Regions from separate parts of the Homo sapiens genome. Here region 1 is linked to region 2. The links are contacts of gene promoters, found by promoter capture Hi-C in human tissues and cell types (Jung and others, 2019). All regions are on one chromosome and are shown on one strand. Each heading gives the region's core, a stretch centred on a gene start or on the middle of the fragment in contact. The rest is flanking DNA. Distances are from core to core; before and after follow the strand shown. Region 1 has its middle 15 kb from the start of PIGY. Region 2 holds the start of TIGD2 (tigger transposable element derived 2).

What was found. Contacts are between HindIII fragments. The study calls those that stand out against the background at their distance.
Region 1: a fragment that was not itself captured here is called in contact with the fragment with the promoter of TIGD2 in region 2 in 1 of the 25 tissues and cell types used here (spleen).

What each region holds. Positions count from the first base shown.
Region 1 is chr4:88,506,884-88,510,987 of GRCh38, forward strand. It overlaps the pseudogene NCOA4P2. Among named protein-coding and RNA genes, the nearest start is that of PIGY, 15 kb to the right of the region's middle. The HindIII fragment of the contact is 3,240 bases long and covers 1,107-4,104 here.
Region 2 is chr4:89,109,416-89,113,342 of GRCh38, forward strand. TIGD2 (tigger transposable element derived 2) reads left to right here and starts at 2,118. Exons shown (of 2, transcript NM_145715.3): 1 at 2,118-2,468; 2 at 2,652-3,927. The coding sequence starts at 3,560. RefSeq lists enhancers at 1,626-1,735, 1,766-1,845 and a silencer at 1,926-2,375. The HindIII fragment of the contact is 12,010 bases long and covers 1-3,927 here.

The sequences.
Region 1 (4,104 bases), core at 1,477-3,976, 600 kb before region 2:
TAGAGACAGAGTTTCTCCATGTTGGTCAGGCTGGTCTCAAACTTCCCACCTCAGGTCATGCGCCGGCCTTAGCCTCCCAAAGTGCTGGGCTTACAGGCGTGAGCCACTGTGTCCAGCCGTCCTTAAGTTTTTTTTACCCGTCATCTTTATTATTATAATAGTTCTAAATGATAATCTGGGTGGGGCTTAAGGAATAATACAAAGCTCTTTTCAGCTGTGGTTCAAAGAACTTTAGTAAAGCTGTATGACAATGACATTGTGGGACCATGACATTTTCCCAAAAGTATTTCCAATAACATAGGCATTTGAGAAACTTCATAGTTTCAAAGTCTGGAAAGCGGTGAAGATATCTTAGAGAATTTTAAAACATTATAAACCCCATTTCTCTCCTGGAGACTTTTTAAAGCATGGACATGAGTTTAAAGATACTGAGAAAACATCGGTTTTCATAAAGCTTCAATGAACACCCCAAGGTACAAGTGTTGTAAGCAGCCTGTTTACTAAAATGTTGCTGCATTGTACTTTTGGAGGTACAGAAATGCTGTGCCTACAGTGAGAGCACAACTTTATCCCTAGTTAAAAGCACCAGGGGTCAAGTTCAGCTTCCATTTACAGAGGATACACCAGTAATCCCTAGGATAGTGAGTGGTTCAAGTACTACACTACATTTCTAACGTGTCTTACCTATTTGCTCTTAGTCAGCACTGGGGCTCTTTTAAACCCTATGTAGATCTATAGAATATTTTGAAAAGAGTCTAAAACTACCTTGAAAATGGTCTTAATACAGAGCCCTTCTAAAAGAGGGATACTTTTAGAAGGATACTAAATACTGGATACTCTAATAACATTTAAAGCAGGGATGTCCAATCTTTTGGCTTCCCTGGGCCACATGGGAAGAAGAAGAATTGTCTTGGGCCACACATAAAATACACTAATAATAGTTGATGAGCTAAAAAAAAAAATCTCATAATGTTTTAAGAAAATTTACAAATTTGTGTTGGGCTACATTCAAAGCCATCCTGGGGCCTGTGGGCCATGGGTTGGACAAGTTTGATTTAGAAAAAGGAATAAAGAAAAACATTGCAGTAGCTCAGTTTCTTTCAAGTGAAGAAGAAAAATGATGTAAAACTAATATGTAGGCTAAAATGTTTGGTAATTAGTGTCAAAAATTACCAAGATTATTAGTACATGTTTTGGTAATCACTAATGGCAGGATTAATTTTTTGTGCAAAATATATATTAATAGAAGAGAAAAATTATTTCAGCCTCTAATAGAAGAAAACAGCAAGAGAAGCAGCTAAAGAACAATTAAAAGTTAGGGAAGTTTACTAGCTTTAGAATACAATACACTTCAATTACAGAAATACTTCTTTTTAAAACTACAGTGTTTTAATGTACTTTTAGTAATAACCCAATCTAAGGAGTGTGGGAGGCTTGTGAAAAACTCCACCAAGGTGCTACATTTCTAGTGTGGGGTGAATTAATACTTCTGTAAAAAGGAAAGAACTGAGTCACCTCAGCATTTTTTGTTTAAATAGTAACTCATAATCCGATGATGTATTTTTCTTCACTAGTTCAAATTTAGGCAGGAAAGGGACTAAGCTAACTGGTCGGACCCAGAAACACAATTATTTGGCAAGTCACAGTCACTTAGCTCATGGATGTGTAATAATCTGCAGAAAAGCTGCTGAACTCTTGTCTGTTCCTTCACATCTGTAGAGGAGTTTGATATAATCACTTCTCTTTCTCGATTTTAAGCTTCATACAGGCAAAGAGATCACAAAATGTAGGGTAGCCATCATGGTCTTGGGGGAAGTTATGTTCCTCCTGTAGGGGTGGATTAAGTAATACTTCCTGGCCCTTCTTCCGAAGTAGCCACTTGTCTTCTCCAGAGGATCACTGGCTGAGGGTGCCCATCTTCTTTCCTGGCAGGATCCAGTCAGCTGTATTAAAGGGACACCAGGAAGTGATTGTGGGGCTTTTAAGCTTTTGTTGGCCAGCCCTGTCCTCAGTACTAGGCACTTCCTTGGGAATTCCTTCCTTATATGGGGGCTGGATTAGCCACTCTGACAAGGGACTGTTGTTTATGACTTGAATCAGCAATTCTAGAAGGAGCCGTTGCCTTTGATGCCTTAGCTTGTTCTTTTCTTGAAGGACAGGACCACATATTCAGGGAATCTTGATGCTTCTCAGGCTCAGGTTTGGTTTCCTCAGGCATCCCATTATTTTGTCTATCTTTCTTTAGAAGCCACTTACACAGAGCTTCCTTCTCAATTCTCATCATACACTCTGCAAAACTTCTGCAGGGCTCATTGGCTGTGCATATGTCCTCTACTTTATATGGGTCCTGATGGTTCTGGACAAGTCAATCCTCAGAAACGATGCTGAGGGTAGAAAATAGTTTCTTGGCTTCCAAGTAGTCATTCAGGCACTTCACATTGCCCAGGTTTTTCAAAATCTCTACACTATTGGGCTGGTTGACCCAACAGTTGATATAGGAGTTGGTTTTGACAAGCCAATCATTCACATTGTAGGAATGGAACAAGAATTTAAACTTCTCACTGGTTTCATAACTGCCATTCTCAGGCTTCTCCAACTTACAGGATTCCTGGGGAATCACCAGCCACTAGATAGATCATCTCACCTTGATCAGAAAGCTCTAGATCTTCCACCTTTTCAATTAAATGGAGAAAGAACTGGTAGTAAAATGGCTGTCACTTTGGATAACTTGGTTTTTCTGGAACTTCTTGTTGCTGACTCTTGAGGAGCAAGTTTTCAAAGCCCTTTAGGTTGCCTGAGACATTACTGAAGAAACTGCAGGCTCTGGAAGAAGTCTATTCTCCAACGTCTGCTTTTGGGTGAGCCAGTCGTGGGGGGTTGTTCCTGAAGACCACTGGTATGGTTGCTTCCAAGGAGCCATTCCCTGAGAGGGACATCTGTGATGCTGGATGCTGACTTCTGCTCTGGCATTAGGATATAGCCTCTCTTCTCCAGGAAGGGCCTGATACTTGATAAGCTAGCATGAGGCATGAAGTGTTTAGGAATTTGAATGGTCTTGAGAAACCCAAATGTGGTGATAGTCATGCAGAGCAGTTGTGTCTGCTTCAAACAGCAGGACAGTTGAATCTTCAAACTTAAGGGTCAAACTGCCCAGTCTCTCCAGGCACACAGAGACTTGGCTAGATCTTTGTTTTGGGTGCACTTCCGTTAATGAATAAGACCATTGAACTGGCCCAATAACCAGTAGAGCTGCTGGGCCTGTGGCTGAAGTGTCTCCTCTTTAAGCTGATAGATGAGGTCTACCTGTTCATACAGCCACCTCACAGTTCGTAAGGCATTCTAGGTGACAGCTTATACAACTCTGAATCTGAGTTTTGACTTCTCACAAGTTATCTTTAATTTGCTGTTTGGCCCAGGGAACTCCACCAATAGCAAGCTCCAAGTCCTTCCATGCATTACTACATCTCAAAAGGGGTTCTCTATTACTGGAGTAGCCACTCTGGTCATGTGAGGTATTCATTCTGCTCACTGCTCCAGCTCCCAATCCCTCTCCGGGTGATCCAGGGGACTTTGGGTGGACAGAGACACAGCCCCACACAAAACTCCTGAGGAGTCTTTTTAAAGGGAATCTTTTCAACTGACTGGAACCTTTTTGCTTCCTCCTTTATTCTTTACATAGAACTGTATTACCTACTATTGCTCTGACTCCAAGTAAGGAGTCTTGCAACAATCAGCCACATGAGGAACACAATTCTCCTACTCTGAAGACACAGCAACAAGGGTGCCAGCTTGAACCAGAGAATAAATCTGCTGATGTCTTGATCTTGGCTTCCCAGCCACCAGACTGTGAGATAAATTCCTGTTCTTTAAATTACACAGTCTCAGGTATTCTGTTATAGCGGCACAAAATGGACAAAGACAGACTTGTATCCTACCCACAATATGTAAAGAACTCTCAAAATTCAATAATGAAGACACAATTTTAAAATGGGCAAAGATTTGAACAGACACAAGATATATCAATGGCAAATAAGCTTAACAACGTGTCATTATAGAACTGCAAATTAAAACCCAAGTAAGGTACCACATCACCCCTATTACCAT
Region 2 (3,927 bases), core at 868-3,367:
CTGAGGCAGAAGGACTGCTTGAGCCTAGGTGGTTGAGGCTGCAGTGAGCCCAAGCCATGGTCGTACCACTGCACTCTAGCCTGGGCAACAGAGAGAAGCCCTGTCTCAAAAATACACATACATACACATACATATATTCTTATTATATATATATGTGTGTATATATACATATTCTTAACATTCTAAGTCCTCTCCCCCTTGTGCTGTAATATGTCTGCCACAACTAGCCACCCCTTCCCCCAACAAAAGGAGAAAGTTTGCCCAATAAAACTGTTTTGTGTAAAGACACAATTGCCTTGAGTAAAATCTTAGTAAAAGTCTACTAAATACAATTGCCTTGAGTCAAGCGGTGTTTTGAGAAAATCTAGAAATGTGGGCTGTATCCAGATTTGAACTTACACAAGGTGATAAAAAGGGAACAGCTATAAGACATAAAACAGCAAACTGGAGAATCCAGGAGGAACAGAGAAAAATGCAAATGGTATCTGGAAGAAAATTAAATCCTAGAGATACTGTGGAAAAGAGAGGAAGAGTAAGAGGCAGGATTCCTTTGTATTTAAATATCCTGGGACACAGCTACTCCAGCAGACTCGGGGGAGAGGCGGAAAGGCAGGCGGCTGACATCTGGTTACAGGCTGCCTCATTTCCACATGGGTGGCAGTCGGTAAAGTGCTGTTCTAGCAGTCTTTCACGCTCTTCACAGGTATCAGGGAAAATAAGAATATTTTGTAAAGTTATATAAAACTACCATGAAGTAAGTTATAATGTACCCAAAACAGGCAACCAGGACTTCCAGAAAGGGACTGGCTTGTTGGAAGCCAAATGGAAGGCAGGGAAGAGGGGAGGTCTAAAAGCAGGTATTCTCCAAAAGCCACTTACAACCTCACAACATAACTAGATCAAAGAATTTCTGTCATGCCAGATAGTGGAAGGCTGCTATGTTGAGAAAGGCAATTGAGCAGTTTTGGCGGCGGAGTCAAACAGAAGGCTTAGAATCAACATCTGTTTTCTACAGTATGCTCGCTTTGATTTCCATCTCCAAGTTTCTGAAATTCCAGAAACAGTATATGGCCTTGTCAAAGAAATGACGAATTACTATGTTACTTTGTGTTAACGAAAAGGTTACATTTATGTTCATATGGAAGAGATAATTCACTGAAGAATTTCCAATTTTTCAAACTGACACGCACACACAAGACGGAAAGGAAGGCAGCCTGACCGCGTTTCCCAGGAAACAGGTGGTGCAAGGTGGAGGTGCACCACTCTCTCCTCCAGGAAGGCGGTGACCCTTCCGCAGATGTCTCCGTTGGAAACAAATAAAGGGAGTATCAGTCAAAGCGCAATTCCCCGATTCCACTTGAGAAGCCCCGGGCGTCGAGGCACGGCAGGAAATTTACCACGACGCCTCCCACTGGCTCAAGGGTCTCCCAGGTGCTGTCGATTTTGCAAAGGGTCCGTCTCTACAGCGACTGTGACGAGTTTCGGAGCATCAGCACCGGGGAGCGCTGACCCGACACTCGGCTCTACCGCAGCCCGCCGCGCCTCGGCACCCTGGGCTTGTCCGGCTGGGTGTTGCCGAGCGAACGCCCCAGCTCCTGCCCGGAACCCACGTCCGCCGGCTCCTACCGTGCCTCATGATCCTCGCTCGGGCTAGCACTTTCCACGCGCGCTGACTCTGGGCTCCGACACCTGGACCGCCTCCGCAAGGCGGCGCGGCTGCTGTTTGTAAACACGCCCCACGTGCGCTCGCCCTGCCCCATTCGCAGCCCGCTCCCGGCACGCGAGGATCCTCCGCTTTCCCCCCAGCACTGGGGGGGTGAGATTTTAAAATTTCCCCCTAGGGAGAAAAGAGCCTCGTCGGCAGAGCCGGGCCACTGGGAAAAGCGCCAGGACAAGGCGAGCGTGTGCCTCCCCCTGCCGGCCAGGGAGGCACTGCGGCCCCGAAACGGCCAGGCGGTGAGTGGAACCCACGCAGCGCCTAGAGACGCACCCCTGCCGGGCCCCCGCCCCTCCCGCCCGCTCGCCGGAGTCCCCTCCCCCGGGCCGCGTGCGCTCACCCGCGCAGGCCCCGCCCCCTCGCCGGCACAACGTTCTGCGGGGGCGCGCGCGTGCTCTCTAATCCCCCGCCTTCCGGCTCCGGCGGCGACGCTCGTCCCTCTCCGCTCGTCCCTCGCCGCTGCCGGGCCACCAGTGCCAGCCTGCCTCAGGAGACTCCATTTGCGCTTAGTGTGGTCTGGGCGCCGCGCAGGCGGTCCCAGGGCGATGCCCGGGGCCGGCGGACTGGCGTTCCCTGTGCCAAGCGGCCGCCCGCTGGCTGGCTGGCTGCAGCAGTGACATCCTGGTCGCCGGCGTCCAGGCGGAATCCGGGCTCCCTCCGCGGGAGGAAAGACGTCCCGCGCTCTGAAGCTCGCCCAGCGGGGAGAGGCCCTCGCTAACACGGCTTCTCCCTGACCTCTTAATTTCAGGAGGTAGGCTCTTCAGGTCCCTCTCTCTGTCACCCCAGATTATGCCTGAAAGCATTATTTGTCGTATTTAGCTATCACATTGATAGGAGGCGTTAATTTTCTCAACATAGTTGCAGGATAAATGTGGATAATGCCACAGATCCTGATGTTGAATTGAAAGAAAATGTTTTTGGTATTTTCCTTTAGGTTTCGGAGCCTCCGAGTATCTCTACAGCCCCCACAGGAACTGCTTCTGTTGGTCCATCGAGGATCGTCTTTCACCAGGATTATTGTAACATCATCTTCACCGAGCCTGCCACCCCATAGCCTCTACCTTGGGTCCTCATTTCCACCGATGCAGTTTTTTTGATGCTTTCTTTAGTAATGTGACATCACATGTCCACTATCCTCCTTTCCAGCTGCCAAATCTAGTAGGTTTAAGTCGCTTTTAAAGTAGAGTTTTCTGCCTGTTCCACTTTCACCTTATTTGCACTGTTCACTTCTGTCCGGGTCATCTTCTCTTGCGTATGATTTCCACAAGCACTCACTTGCGCAACCTATAGCAGAGTCCGTGCCTAGAGAGACAGCATTCCATACAATCCACTGCTTGACAAAGACCACATAGTCAGAGGGTGAGTTTTCCCATTGTATTTTCCTGTATGTCAAGTTTGCAAGTCCTCTCTTGACTTAAACTGTTTACTCCCTAGCACATTTCCTAAAATACTTCCACCTGAGATTTAGTGGCTATTCTGGCAAAGAACATTACCTGCAAGGATGGCAAGAATTGAGTATGCAATAGTACTGTTTTAGAAGCCTTACCAGTACAGTTTCTAGCCTCTAGTGTGATTGCACTTCATGAAAGACCCTGAACCCTGAGGAGGAAGAAAGATAGAAGATAAGAGTTAATTGGCGCTAGGCTTTGTTGTAGGAAGTTTGTAAGTTTTAAAATAGCAAGTAGATTCACGTAGACCTTGTCAGGAAATTGGTCACTATCCATCTAGGCCCTAGAAGTGAGAGGAGGAATCTTACGAACTCATTTTCTAGTTGCTTTGTATTCAAATCTTAGTTGTTAATTATCTTGTTCTAGTAATCACCTAAAATATTAGACACTTAAAATGTTGGGGAAACGTAAGCGTGTGGTGTTGACAATTAAGGACAAGCTTGACATTATTAAGAAACTTGAGGAAGGCATCTCTTTCAAAAAACTTTCCGTGGTGTACGGAATTGGTGAATCCACAGTTCGTGATATTAAAAAGAACAAAGAAAGGATTATAAACTATGCAAACAGTTCAGATCCTACCAGTGGAGTATCCAAACGTAAATCTATGAAGTCATCAACATACGAGGAGCTTGATAGAGTTATGATAGAGTGGTTTAACCAACAGAAAACAGATGGGATTCCAGTGTCCGGAACGATTTGTGCAAAACAAGCCAAGTTCTTTTTTGATGCTTTGGGAATGGAAGGTGATTTTAATGCATCGTC